Linked DNA regions of Homo sapiens: all the other regions are linked to region 1. The links are contacts of gene promoters, found by promoter capture Hi-C in blood cells and fetal thymus (Javierre and others, 2016). All regions are on one chromosome and are shown on one strand. The core of a region is centred on a gene start or on the middle of the fragment in contact, and the rest is flanking DNA. Distances in the headings are between cores, read along the strand shown.

Region 1 (2,782 bases), core at 142-2,641:
CTGGGTCCTGCCCTAAGCACTGAGTAATCAAAGACATTAAAGTTCCCCAGCAAGAGCTTGCCTCTAGAGGGAATTGCTAACAAGTCAACAGAAAATTGTATTGACAAGAATAAATGGTAGAAGAAAGGCAAACTCAAGAGAACAAAAGAAAGACTCTGAGGTAACAGTGGAGAATGGAAACGCCAGACAGTAAGCGGGGCAGTTGCCTGGGAGAAGAAGGCAAGACGGGTTGTCTCATGTCTTAGTCACAGAAGACCTTCCAGTCCAGGTGACATCTTAGCTTATTCTGAGAGAATAAACATGATTTATCAGTAGGAAGCCAATCCAAGGCAGGGAAAACAGCATATCCAAAGGCCTAGAGAAAAAAAAAAAAATACAGCGTAGTCCAGCTGTAGAACTACAAGCTGCTTAATATGGCTGAAACATGGGGTGTGAAGTAGGGAGTGGTGAGACTAATCTCTACTCCAAAAAGTCTGCAAACTATTCGAACAGTCTAGGGGAAAGCTGTGAGGTCAGAGGTGACTGACCTCAGTTTCCTCATACCTAAAACACAGTTAATAAACAGTGCTTTTGCAAAGATGAAGTAAGAAGATATTTCGAAACAGCCTTTTCTTTAAAAAAAAAATTTTTAGACGTGAAGAAAAATATAAATTTTAAAATGTCATTGTTATTCTTGTTGTAGAGAGGAAAACTGTGGAGAGAACATTCTCCAGGCACAAAGCAGACCATGTAGTTCCCATGGAAATCCCACAGCCAAGGCCACAGGAGTGGGCAGTGGCTGGAAGGTGACACAGTTCTTGCCACAGCCCCCTCAGGGCCACACAAAAGCACAGAGCCTGGACCCAGGACATGCCTCAAGCAATACCTTCACTGCCACAGGCCAGATTCCGCCAGAGACCAGAAATCGGCACTCAGTCTACATGCAAGCCAGCCGCTGTGCATCTCAAGGACATGCTCTGTGTCCTGGGAGAGACCAGGATCCCGGAAGTCATCCAGCTGAAGGAACTGCTGTCCCTAGCAGCGTGACTCACCTGTACTCCATCCTCTGGTGGTCGCTATGAGAAACAGCAGGAAGCTGAGTTGGTTCATTGTAATCTAAAGAAAGCAAGATGAAGGTCACCATCTTGGCCATCATTTTTCTCTACATCCCTGCCCCACCCCTGTCCAGTCTTACAAAGACTCCAAAACCCCTTGCCTTTTGTTTAAACTTCACACATCTCTGAGACCAAAAGCAGACCTAAGCTGAAAACAGGATTCCCCCAACTCACAGACCTTGTCTGAGTCTCAGCTGCACTTTCCTTGGGTACAGAGAGCTCCTTCACTCCCTCCCTCCACTGCGCCCTGGAGCTCAACAGAGTGCAGCTTTCTCCAAAAACGCTCCTGATGTGGAATGAGGTGCAGAAAGCTTTATGGAGGAAGCCCAGTGGGGCCAACCAAGGTTTCCAGCCTCACCCTCCCCTGGCACAATGCCCAGTGCAGGGGAGGCTTCTGGTTATCTCGGGGAGGTTATTTATACAGTGGAATTAACAGGTTCTAAAGAAAAAACCAATCCTAAGAATCACCTGCTAGCGTTGTTCCTGGATCTGGGGGTTTCATGGACCTGTGTCAAGTAGGAAGTAGACGAAGAGATTAACAAGAGTTGGTGTTGGTTTTGGGTTTTTGTGCCTTTCTTTCTTGCAAAATAAAAACTTTCTCTAAATTAAGCATCTGTTGGCTTGGCACATTGGCTCAAATCCCAATACTTTGGGAGGCCAAGGCAGAAGGATCACTTGAACTCAGGAGTTTGAGACCAGCCTGGGCAACATAGGGCAACCTCTTCTCTACTAAAAATAAAAGTAAAAAAATTAGCATGGCATGGTGGTACTTGCCTATAGTTTCAGGTGGGGCTGAGGCAAGGCAAAAGGGTAACTTAAGTCCCAGAGATAGAGGATTCAGTGAAATATGACCGTGCCACTGTACTTCAGCTTAGGTATCTCAAAATAAATAAATAAATGAAATTAATCATTGGCCATAATTATCAATTCATAGAAATAGAAAAAGGAAATTTTAACAAAATGGGAAAGTGATCATTTCTGAATAAATTGGTAAAAAGGAATGGAGGGGAAAGAGATACAAAACACACAAAAAAATACGAATAGAAAAGTTTTAAAAAATATATAAATCTTTAGTTTGAATAATTTAGTTTCACACAAAGACTCACTACTTTGTCTTTAATTTTGTCATTTTGCCACAAACGAGGGAAAATTTACTACAGGATTCATTTGAAACTGAATCAATACGAAACCTCTCTGCTGCTTCGAACCTCCTGTCTTATTCCTGCTCCTATGTCATGAAGTTCTCAAATGCTACCCTGCAGCTGTAATAGAATTACTCAGTTCTTCCCCAGTGATATCATACATTTAATACATAATGTCATTATAGCATTAATAATACTGCAACCTTTTCTTACAAAGATTGTGAATATCTTTTTTGTTAAGCTAATATTTCCTATTTGTTGGTTCAAAGTACTGATTTGCAAAAAATACTCACATATTGATAGAAGAAAATAAAATAGCACCCAAGAAGAAAAACTGCAAAAAAAAGTTATACTTTTGTAAATTTAAAATCTATTAGAAGCTATTTGCTCTGTGTATCTGGAAAATAATTAATTAAATAAAATTAAATGTATTAGAAACTAAATTAACTCATCAGTATAGGTAACAAAATGAACATACCCAGCTTTCATATTTACAAACAACAACCTCTTAGAAATAGAGGTCTCAGCCAGGCGCTGCGGCTTACA
Region 2 (2,782 bases), core at 144-2,643, 240 kb before region 1:
AAAAAATAAAGTCTATTAAAACAAATCTCATCGGGGGAAATGAAAAATTCACTTTACTTGGGGAAGGGACATGTGGACTTTTTGATTTTTACAATTCTGACTGGGAATTAGAAGTTGAGCTGAGTAGAAATGAGAATGGGAGTGGATGCCAGTTTTACAAGAATCAAGCTTCTTGCTTGGGCAAATCTGTCATGACTAACCTGCCCCATTTGCAAAGCATTTCTGTCTGGGTTTTATTGGGGCTTCACAAAAGGGTGTGTATTTAAAAATAAAAACACTGAAAAACTTTTGTGAAGATTCAAAGAAGAAAACATGCAATGAAGTGAGCAGCCTCCGATTGGATAGACTTGCCTTGTGGGGCTGGGTTGCTTCTCCCTGACCGGCGACTTCCAAAGCCTCAATAAGACGAGCTATTGGTCAGCAGTGCCTAAGATGCTATGGGCCAGGCTGGCCAAGAGGCTAGCAAGCACAGAGATGGAAAAGTCCAGTTCACAGTTCAGCACCATCACTCCATCACACCTTACAGTCACCAAGAGGTGCTCCAGAAATGGTGCAGTCACAAATTGGTTGCAACAACGGAGGCTTGGCTTTCCCTGTGACCACTTAAAGTGGCTCGATTTGGTTTTCTGAGCCCCGAGCTCAGTTCTTCCTCCCCTAGACCTTGGGAAGTACGAGCCATGGATCTGCAGATTCCAAAAGAAAGTGGGCTGAGCAAGCCCTGTTCGTCTGGCTGTCTGGTAAAAGACACATCCATTGTGCAGCACCCCCACATCCCTGGCATATCACGGTGCTTTTCCTGGAAAAGTCCATATTGGATTTGCGGTCTTGAAAACCCCAAGCTTAAAACACCCTGGGCCTCAGGATTTCCCCCCGTGTCCGTAATGCCACCTCTTCTACTCCAGGCTACCTCCCACAGTCTAAACAAATAAGCAGAAGGAGATTCTCACCCCACTCACACAGGCAGTCCAAAGTCCACTTCTTGCTTGGCTTTTTCTTTCTCAAATACCTTTTCTCATAGCCCTGATACTTCTAAACAGAAAGCAATAGCCTGCCTTGGGAAGAAGATAGACAGAAAGACAGGAACAGAGTCCAGATCCAAAGGTAGCTCTTGTCTGGCCTTCCTGCTGGAGCTACTCTCTGAGGGTTCCCAATTTGCATTTCCCACATACTGTAACCAGCCCTAGCCTTCAGAAATCCCAACTTCTTCCCTCTTGCTTTCTTGGACCTTCTCTTCCAAGAAAATACACACCAGTATGACCGCACTGTGGCCACTGCTGGTTCTCAGCCAAAAGCCTGGAGTTTTCACTTCTACTCTCTCTTCCCACTCTAGCCAATGCTTTCTGTTGACCCATGCTCCTGGTTTGTCAGCCTGCATGTGCACAGATTCCCTCCCAGGGCAGGGATGTAGGGCAAATCTTCTCCCAGAGCTCAGTCCATCCAGCTCAGTCTCTCTAGGCTGGGTCTTTGCCAGAAGATGCCCATGTAAAACCAACCACTCAAGCAAGACTTCTACCAGGGCCTGTCACCCTAAGACTGGTCAGAAAAGTGACTGGAGCCTTTGGCTTAGAGCCCCTCATTTCCTTGGAAACTGGGGTTGGTGGGGCTGAGTCTTGGAAACCCAAGGGCCCAGGAACTTATAATGTTCCTTCCTCTTTGAAAGAGGCAGTTGAAACTGACAGCCAGTCCCTAAGGAAGAGTGACCAAACACAATACCCAGCCCTGCACCTTCTCTCCATCCACGAAGATACGCTGATTCCTGGCAGCTAACATGGGACTCAAACCATCAGGCAGATGAACACTCACCTGTTCCGTAGCTTGCCCCAAAAGCCAGGGAGAGAAACAGCACGAAGGTCAAGGAGAGGAGCCCCTTGGGATCCATCAGCCAATGAGGAGAAGGAAGGGATCCTGGCCGGAGCCTGGCAGCTGCTCACAGATGCCAGGCAGAAGCAAGCTTCGTGTCATGCAGCAGAGGCTGTCTGATTTATGTATCAGGAACCAGCAGGTTCCTGAACCCGCTTCCTGTATCACTGGGACTTTTTCTGCTTGTGTCTTGAGGATTGCTCATCTCCCATGAGGCTTTAAATCACTTTTTTGTTCTCAAGAAGCAGGCTTCTCAAGAAGCCAGGCACTTAGCCTATGGGAGCCAGGAAAGGGGGTGTGTAGTCACCTCGGCCAAAACCCGGCTTTGGGCAGAAACATGCGCCCCAGCTTCTTTCCTTAGCTGTCTCCAGGAACCGGATGTTGCAGATTCTCTGAGCAGTTCTCTCCGGTAAGTCTTCTTGGATTGCAAAGAAAAGATGTTTCATTGGATCACTCCTCAAATTTGGCAGTTCACAGCTGAACTTAGATAACTGCATTTTGATGAGCTAATAGACCTCTTACTTCTGTTTTATTTCATAATTTCAGATGACACCTCAACATGCAGTCTGGTGCAGGTGCCACTGTCACACAGAGATGGGAAGGGCATGTGCGGGTCACTTGGAAGAAACCCTGTGACCCCGATGAGTGCAATGTGGTATAATTTAGTAGCCCATGCTCCTAGTTTGTCTTCTTGCATGTGTGTGGATTCCCTCCCAGGCAGGGATGTAGGACAAATCTATCCCAGAGCTCCATCCTTCCAGCTCAGTCTCCTTGTTGTGTGTGTGTTTTCTCCTCTAATTTTTAACGTCTGTGGGTACATAGTAGATATACATATATGTGTGTGTGTGTGTGTGTGTGTGTGTGTGTGTGTGTGTGTGTGTATGTATATATATATGTATGGGGTATGCATATATTTGTATGG
Region 3 (2,782 bases), core at 206-2,705, 210 kb after region 1:
ACAGAGACAGAAGGACCCGAAGAGAAATTTCTGGATGCCATGATTACTCAAAGTCCTTCTGTCTTCTGCCCTCAATTCCCACCGCTCAGCAATGACCCAATGATACTTTCCTACTCAACATTGCCTACTCCCTCAACAACATAAGCTTCTCCCCATCCTTATTCCACCTCTCCATCATTCTCTACCTTGGCTGATTACCACTCCCCTCCACCCTAAAGCCTGCTTACAATTTCACCTTTCTCTCAATCTCCTTCTAGCTCACATTCAGTCAAAGGAGCTCTCAAGATCTGACCTCATGCAGTCTCTTTGCCTGGTCATTTCTCTGTCCTTTTGTCCCTGTCTTTATTCTGGCTGAGCTGAGAGCAAAGAGTCAGAAATGGGGCCAGGATGGCATAGGGCCAGGAAGTCAAGCAGCTAGAATGAGCTGTGTGAGAAATAGAGAAGGGTCAGGGTACAGCAGAAGAAGAGTCAAAGAAAGGGCCTGAAGGATGGGGACAGCCTGGGAGACATGGGCAGAGGGAACTGTGGGAGTCTTGAGTGCGATTAAGACCGTTTGGTGCAATTGTTGGTCTTTCTTTCTTTCTTTCCTTCTTTCTTTCCTTCCTTCCTTCCTTCTTTCTTTCTTTCTTCTTTCTTTCTTTCCTTCCTTCCTTCTGTCTTTCTGTCTTTCTCTCTCTTTTCTTTCTCTCTCTCTCTTTTCTTTCTTGCTCTCTTTTCTTTCTCTCTCTCTTTTCTTTCTCGCTCTCTCTTTTCTTTCTCTCTCTCTTTCTTTTCTTTCTCTCTCTCTTTCTCTTTCTCTCTCAGTCACCCAGGCTGGAGTGCAATGGCACAATCGCGGCTCACTGCAACCTCAGCCTCCCAGGTTCAAGCGATTCTCTTGCCTCAGCCTCCAGAGTAGCTGGGACTACAGGCATGCACCACCACGGCTGGTGAATTTTTTATTTTTTATTTTTAGTAGAGATGGGGTTTCACCATGTTGGCCAGGCTGGTCTTGAACTCCTGGCCTCAAGTGATCCACCCACCTTGGCTTCCCAAAGTGTTGGGATTATAGGCGTGAGCCACCACACCCAGCCCAATTGTTGGTTTTCTGTATGTACCGAATAATGCTAAGAACCAGAGATGGTTCCAGGGTCAGAAAATGGGGTTAAGGAAGGGAGAAGATAGAGTAAGAGCTTTGTGAAAGTTTGAGGCAAGGGGGCGTAGATTTGGGGCTAGGATAGACATCTAAGGCTAGGTAGGAAGCTGGGTGCTTGCTTGCTAGAGATCATATAGACTCTTGGCCAACTGAGACAAAGCCAACATCAGGGGATCACATCAGGATTACGAGACTTTCAGGATATCCAGTCCCTGCTCTCATTTCTGGACAGAGGTTGTCCCTGGATATTATTAGCAGGTGAAAGCAGGTTCACAGCCCTGGCTGCCCTTTTCCCTGTCTCTCACAATTTTCTCTCAGTTCCCCCTTTCACTTATCTTAATGCCCTTTCAGTTTGTGTATCATTGACAAGGTCATTATAGACCACTGCAGATGCTGTCCTGCGGTGTGAAGCATGTGTCATACAAGTCCAGGTTGGCTGGTTTGCTTTCTTCCTCTCTCTGTTTCTCTCTTTCTGGCTTCTTTTCTCCCTCCTCCAAAATATGGATTTGGTTCAAACTAACCTAAGAAGGTAGGAGTCCTAGGCAGTTCCTCTCCCAGGGTCTTGGGATGGCAAAGCAATGGACAGATGCTTCCAGCTATTAGGAGGAACTGGAAGCATCTAGGTACAGAACTGGAGAGGGTACAGCCAAGGAGTATGTGAGGTTCAAGCTCTATGTCTAACTAAGATGCCTACTGCTAAGGACTCAGAGTCAGAGAGGAAGCTGGGAGAGAGGAGCTGGAAAGGCCCGTGGGGTGGGGAGTTCCCATTTCTATCCAGGAAAGGCAGAAAGTAAGTCTAACAGAACAGCCAAGACTTAGGCAAAAGCAAGAGCCTAAAATGGACATATAGGCCAATAAGGTTTAAGCAAAATTGCCCCACCCCTGAGGCAAGCCCTTGCCTAATCCTAGGAGTATGACAGATCTGAATCCAGCTGTTGGGAGGTTAGCCAGTGAGAAAGAAGCCTGAGGGAAAAGACTGACTTTTAAATTTCAGCCAAGGACAGTAAAAGTTAGTGATTTTTTAGAGATTCTTACCATGATTTTGGAAAACTGAGAATACTGCCTGTCATACTCAGGGAAAGCTATAGTTGGGAGGGCAGAGACTTTCAAAGCTATTGTTGAATCTTGGCTTTAAGGTACAGGTGGGGAACAGGTCCTGGTAATCTTCCAATCTCTGTAACTGTGCCTTTCCTGCCCATGCCATCCCCATGCTGTGTTCTCTGAGGACCAAGAGTTGGGAAGAGGAGGGGAAAGCCCTGCTGTGCTATCAGACCCTGCATTACATGCCCATCCTCACTGCAGCCCTGGCCACTGTCTCCTTTCTTCCTTTCTTTATTTCTTTTCTTTTTTTCTTTCTTTCTTTCGCCAGGGTCTCACTATGTTACCCAGGCTGGTCTTGAACTCCTGAACTCCTGGCCTCAAGTGATTCTCCTGCCTGGCCACTTTCTATGGTCTCAGTATCTCAGGTATGATGGGGAGCAAGGTGATGTGTAGAAACCAAAGGCCACAAGTAGCAGTCATCATTCCCACTTACAGCCCAGTCCCAGAGGACACAGATCCTGTTTTTGCCCCACACCAGCTGTGTTGGGAGGAAAATTCTGTCTGTATTTCCTCCTTCAGCTGAAAGCAGAAAGCTTGCATCTGGGC
Region 4 (2,782 bases), core at 1-2,500, 200 kb before region 1:
TACTTTGACTCTAATAACATCCTGAAAGGTAAGTAGAATTATTCTCATAATATGATGAAGAACCCAAGGCTCTCAAGGGAACACCACTCTTGGATTATTTAGCCCCGCTCTTCTACAAGAATTGCATACCCCAACCCCTGGAGCCCCTCCCCATATCCATGTTTCTGCCCTATAATCTGATCCTTTCACCAAAAATGTTTAGATCAGGTACACACACCTGAACTAAATTGGGACTATCAGTTTCTCTCTCTTTAAATTGCCCTGAGAATTGAAACTCAGAGGAGCAAAAGTCTAAGTTTTGAGAGATAACATGTGTAAAATGGCAGGAATCCAAATCCATAGGCACAGTCCACAGATTCCTGAAGCTAGGGGTTCTGGCCCGAACCTGGTTTTCAATCTTCTCCCCTTAAGCCCTTCCTAGCTCTTTTAAACTCTTTGAATTGCTTTAAATAGCCCTAGTTTCTTAAACTAAATTCTCCTTTTTTGGTAAAGGTACATTGAATTAGTTTCTGTTATTTGCTATCAAAAGAATCTTACCTAATATGGGCACAGAGATGTGAAGATCTTTTTTCAAGGCTGCACAGCTAGTGAGCAACTGACCAGTTTTGAACCCAAGTCTGTCTGGCTCCAGGTATAATGCCTGAGTCCTTATTCCATATACACTGGTTAGACTGGAGCTATGAGTGGAAGTTTTTTTGTCCTGCCCATTATGAAAGTTGAAAAATTCTCCTGATAACTCCTGCCCCATTCTTTATATTAATACATTCTCTTTTTTCTTAAGTCCAATGAAGCCTAATTTCGGAGATATAATCAAGATGAGCTGAGCTGATTTAGGTTGATCACAGGACAAAATGAAGGAAATAGGAAAAATCTCTAGTTTTCCTTCTCTTCAAAGCTTAGACTCACTAACTTCAGAAGAGGTGTTAAATGTCCTAAGATTGTTAATTTGGATATCTGTTGACCTAGGCTCACTCCCAAATAGAATTGGATCAAGGAAAAATGAATCAAACCTGTCCTGAGGTTTTTCTCTCCTCCTCCCCGAGAGTGCCCCATGCCTCCCAGGAAGCCCTACAGTGGTCCATCTGGGGCCACTGGAGTGGGGATTTGCTCTTTGGCTCCCCTGACTCACCAAGCACTTGCAGCTTGATCTTCCATTCTTGCTCATTCCCAGTCTTTTTCAACACCCTCATGATGTAGGTGCTGTTGTCCTCTTTCTGGACCTTAGAGATGTACAGTGCGCCACTCTGAGGATCAAGTCTGACCCTGCCTTTAAATTTGGATTCAAAGTACTTAGATTTTCTGGAATCCCATTCTACAATCTTCTGGTCGAAAGTATAAAACCAGGTTAGTTGTTTGTAGTTCTCAGGCAGGCTCTCAGAGATGTTCAGAGTCACGTTGCTGCCGGAGACCACGGTCATATGTACCAAGTGACCTGCCAATGAGATTCAGAGTGAGACCTGCGCTAGAGGAGGCAGTGTTGCTGACAGGCCCAGGGTATAGCCTGGGCTGGTGGAACAGGTGAGAAGGAAGGGATTTCTGCTTAGGAGCAGTGAGTATGGTTTTCACTGGAGGTCCAGGTCTCCTGCTTAGGAACTCAAGAAAAGTTGAAGCTTGAAAAGTGGGCATGGGGGAAGGGGATGCTGCTTATAATTAATCTAGTACTGTCCCCAGAAAATGAAAGAATTGAGTAAGGCCAACTGAGGTTGGGCCTGGCTCTCTCCCTTACTCTCATACCAGTAGACTTTCAAATAAACTGATGACAAGTCATATCTCTGCTCTGGTCTTGTGTTTCCTGTCTATTCTCATTTCAGTAAGCATGTTGTTAGTCCCTAGAGGCATAGACATAAAAAGTACATGATTCTGTTTAAAAATATTTAATATACCAATGTGGGAGGACAAACACACAAACAAATAATCCTAATATATTATCTTGATGACTATAATAAAGGTAACGTGGGGACCAAGGGAAAGCTTCCCCTTCACCTTCTGAAGGTTTGCCAAAAATCACTGACAAGAGGCAGATTAAGGAGGAAAGGCATACAGATCAATTTAACGTGTAAGCAGAGCCTTCCTAATGAAGAGCCAAAGATACAGGGCAAATTGTCCATTTTTATGCTTAGGTTCAACAAAGTATGGACAGTCATGGAGAAATATGATTGGACAAAAAGGGTATGATTGAATGCCAATAGACTGACTGCGGGAAACCCAGCAAGGCCTATCTTTCTAGATTCTGCTTGGCCTTTCTGTGCCAGATTCTTTCCTTCCTCCCGTGTGTGGGTCAGGCCCTCTCTAGAATGGGGGTCTTATGATTCACAATCAAACAAGATAGGTCAGATAATTTCTTTATAGCTATTTTTTTTTTACAGAGAAAGGCTCAAGGAAAGTTAGGGTGGTATATTTAAATTTTATGGCTGGCTTTGGGGAAAAGGGGTTTTGGCTTCTATGGCCCACCTTGGGAAAGAGGGATTCCAGTGTCTATGGCTAGCCTAGGGGAGAATGGGACTGATAGACAGGAGGGCAGGAGAAGGTCAGAGAAAAACTTTCACTTCTGAGGCTGCTTCTGAGGCCATCATTTTAGGGCATCATTTCCTGACTCCTGACAATAAACACAGTGTGCTATGGGAATATATTCCTATCCGGAGGGTAGGGATAGAAAATGGAGAAAATACTAAGAAAAATCTCTTTGGAGGAGATGACCACTAGGGTAAGCCAAAGGGTGATTAAAAGCTAATATTTGTTAAGAACTATCTGTCAGGCACTATTTGAGACACTTGGGATACAT
Region 5 (2,782 bases), core at 129-2,628, 140 kb before region 1:
GGGTTTTGGTGTGTACTCTGCCTCTTACTAGGTGGCTTGAGTAAGTCATTTACCCCCACTGTGCCTCACATTCCTGATCCGTAAGATAGGGATATAAAGAATGTTTCTTCAAAAAGTTGTTTTAAGAGTTAAACAAGGCTGGGTGTGGTGGCTCATGCCTGCAATCCAGCACTTTGGGAGGCAGAGGCGGGCAGATCACTTGAGGTCAGGAGTTCAAGATCAGCCTGGCCAACATGGTGAAAACCCCACCTCTACTAAAAACACAAAAATTAGCTAGGTAAGATGGCACACACCTGGACTCCCAGCTACTCAGGAGGCTGAAGAAAGACAATCACTCTGAGGCAAGACAATCACTTGAACCCAGGACGTGGAGGTTGTAGTGAGCTGAGATCGTGCCACTGCAATCCCGCCTGGGCAACAGAGTGAGACTCTGTCTCAAAAACAAAAGTGTTAATCAAGATTATAATTTATGCTTTTAAACTGCTAGTCCCAAACTAAATTCTCTCACTGCTCTGTGTTATTCCCAGAGTCTGTCTCTCAAGTTTAATAGGTAAGAATAAGATGACTTACTCCCCACATCTGTTTACTGGTAATGCTCAGCTGGCCACTTCTGGAAGTTTCTTCAGCAGACATTCTTAACTGTTTTTCACCTACAACCACATAATCAGTGATGATTTTTTATAAGTCATACTCTCTGGGAGTGAACTAAGATTGTTGTGATACATAAATTTCTAATATAATGCTTCCATGTGAGCACTTACATAATAGGGTAACATGTGAGGGACCTCTATATGAGGTTCCAAAGGCTTTTCCAGGAGGTTGTTGTGTTGGACTGAGTGGGTTTCTCAGATCTCTCCAGGACCCAAAGGGGGTGAGTAATTGGTGACAAGGACAGGGAATCAGGCTTATTTTATGGTTCTCTGTGTTTATAGGGTCAGCAGCCTCTGGACCCGTGAAAGAGCTGGTCGGTTCCGTTGGTGGGGCCGTGACTTTCCCCCTGAAGTCCAAAGTAAAGCAAGTTGACTCTATTGTCTGGACCTTCAACACAACCCCTCTTGTCACCATACAGCCAGAAGGGGGCACTATCATAGTGACCCAAAATCGTAATAGGGAGAGAGTAGACTTCCCAGATGGAGGCTACTCCCTGAAGCTCAGCAAACTGAAGAAGAATGACTCAGGGATCTACTATGTGGGGATATACAGCTCATCACTCCAGCAGCCCTCCACCCAGGAGTACGTGCTGCATGTCTACGGTGAGCAAAATCAGTTCCAATGGTGGATGGCTGCCTTGGTGAGGTGGTGAGCTCCTTGACATGAGAGATGTTTAAGCAGAGGCTGAATAAACACTTGGCAAGAATGTGGGAGAGGGGACTTCTGCATGAATGAAATAGATGTAGCTGACCCCTGAGGTCCCTGCCTACTCAGAGATGTTGTAAGAAGCAGCGTGGTGCAGTGGATGGCTGATATGTGCAGTGGCCATCGCATAGATCAAGGTCAAATGCTGGCTTCTTTATTTAGTCACATGACCTTAGCCGAGTTATTTAATTTCTTCAAGTCTTAGTTTCCATATCTGTAGTGGGGAGGAAAGAAATGCCTACCTTAGGAAGATTTTTGGGCAAAATATCGATCACATCTCTTTCTCTACAGATTACAACCAATTGATAAATAGATGCAAGAAGGAGGGGATTAAAATATCAGCATATTTCTGGTAAATCTAGACAGGAGAAATGCTTCCTTTCAATTCTAGACCTTGGCACTCATCCAGGGAAGTTAAAATTATGAAACAATGACTCAAACTTCTTCAAGAAGAATAGCTGCTTCACTCACTGAGCCACAGTATCAGGAACCTTAGGGGATGGGCCTCCAGACTTGCTTGTAGGAGGTAGGCACTGCACCTGATCCAGGTGTGTCTTCCATATAGACATGGTTGAAGGGAACAGAAGATATGTATTCTGCAGGCTAACTAGTCAGGGGAGGAAGAAAAAGGGCAAAACACATTTTAACTGCAACCTTTAACGTCTCAAACCCATGAGTAGAGAAAGGTAAATGATGAATGTCAGACTCTTACCATCTCACCAATGAACCAACTACTCATTCTCTGAGGCAGGGGAGTGAGCACAGAGTAGAGAAGGGGGCCAGAAGGGCTACTCCAACACAATTTTCTCCTAGAGAGTAAAGTGAACTCTCATAGAGAGTAAAGGGAAGCCTGAGGACAGAGACTAGGGAACCTCTAGAACAGATAATATTAGCGGACATCTAACATGCGTTATCACAGTGCTTGCCATGTGGCTATGCTTAGTAAATGACAGTTATATTCTTATTGCATTATTATTTCTATTATTTCTATTGTTGTTATTGTTATTATTATTATATAGCTATGGTAAAGCAGACCTAGGTAGTTCTCTTTTCCAGATACGAATGAGGATTCTGCTCTGAATTACTGCTTTCTCTCCAGTCTGGAGCTCCCAGGGAGATTCAGGTCCAAGGTATCCAAGGATAATTCAGAGAATGGAGAGCTATAGGCAGAGTTTCCACCTCTGGTTTTCCTTCCTCTCACAGAGCACCTGTCAAAGCCTAAAGTCACCATGGGTCTGCAGAGCAATAAGAATGGCACCTGTGTGACCAATCTGACATGCTGCATGGAACATGGGGAAGAGGATGTGATTTATACCTGGAAGGCCCTGGGGCAAGCAGCCAATGAGTCCCATAATGGGTCCATCCTCCCCATCTCCTGGAGATGGGGAGAAAGTGATATGACCTTCATCTGCGTTGCCAGGAACCC

The links. The method cuts DNA at HindIII sites, captures the fragments that hold promoters and counts their contacts. A CHiCAGO score of 5 or more calls a contact.
Region 2: a contact is called between a fragment that was not itself captured here and the fragment with the promoter of ITLN1 in region 1, in 1 of 17 cell types (megakaryocytes). The highest score is 5.6, in megakaryocytes.
Region 3: a fragment that was not itself captured here is called in contact with the fragment with the promoter of ITLN1 in region 1 in 1 of 17 cell types (activated CD4 T cells); the score reaches 5.0 in activated CD4 T cells.
Region 4: a contact is called between a fragment that was not itself captured here and the fragment with the promoter of ITLN1 in region 1, in 11 of 17 cell types (fetal thymus, megakaryocytes, total CD8 T cells and 8 more). The highest score is 9.2, in fetal thymus.
Region 5: a contact is called between a fragment that was not itself captured here and the fragment with the promoter of ITLN1 in region 1, in 7 of 17 cell types (fetal thymus, naive CD4 T cells, activated CD4 T cells and 4 more). The highest score is 6.8, in fetal thymus.

The regions. Positions count from the first base shown.
Region 1 is chr1:160,883,789-160,886,570 of GRCh38, forward strand. ITLN1 (intelectin 1) reads right to left here and starts at 1,392. Exons shown (of 8, transcript NM_017625.3): 1 at 1,273-1,392; 2 at 1,032-1,095. The coding sequence starts at 1,089. The HindIII fragment of the contact is 4,692 bases long and covers 1-1,403 here.
Region 2 is chr1:160,645,067-160,647,848 of GRCh38, forward strand. SLAMF1 (signaling lymphocytic activation molecule family member 1) reads right to left here and starts at 1,978. Exons shown (of 7, transcript NM_003037.5): 1 at 1,804-1,978. The coding sequence starts at 1,879. LOC107985220 (a long non-coding RNA gene) reads left to right here and starts at 1,943. Exons shown (of 2, transcript XR_001738266.2): 1 at 1,943-2,269; 2 at 2,407-2,782. RefSeq lists enhancers at 1,810-2,019, 2,060-2,109. The HindIII fragment of the contact is 1,112 bases long and covers 838-1,949 here.
Region 3 is chr1:161,094,749-161,097,530 of GRCh38, forward strand. No RefSeq gene overlaps it. Among named protein-coding and RNA genes, the nearest start is that of KLHDC9, 2.2 kb to the right of the region's middle. The HindIII fragment of the contact is 2,624 bases long and covers 144-2,767 here.
Region 4 is chr1:160,683,758-160,686,539 of GRCh38, forward strand. CD48 (CD48 molecule) reads right to left here. Exons shown (of 4, transcript NM_001778.4): 2 at 1,130-1,432. LOC124904439 (endogenous retrovirus group K member 18 Env polyprotein) reads left to right here. Exons shown (of 1, transcript XM_047438433.1): 1 at 1-2,782. Among named protein-coding and RNA genes, the nearest start is that of CD48, 27 kb to the right of the region's middle. The HindIII fragment of the contact is 715 bases long and covers 894-1,608 here.
Region 5 is chr1:160,747,262-160,750,043 of GRCh38, forward strand. It overlaps SLAMF7 (SLAM family member 7), which reads left to right. Exons shown (of 7, transcript NM_021181.5): 2 at 933-1,253; 3 at 2,560-2,782. Among named protein-coding and RNA genes, the nearest start is that of SLAMF7, 9.4 kb to the left of the region's middle. The HindIII fragment of the contact is 7,230 bases long and covers 1-2,782 here.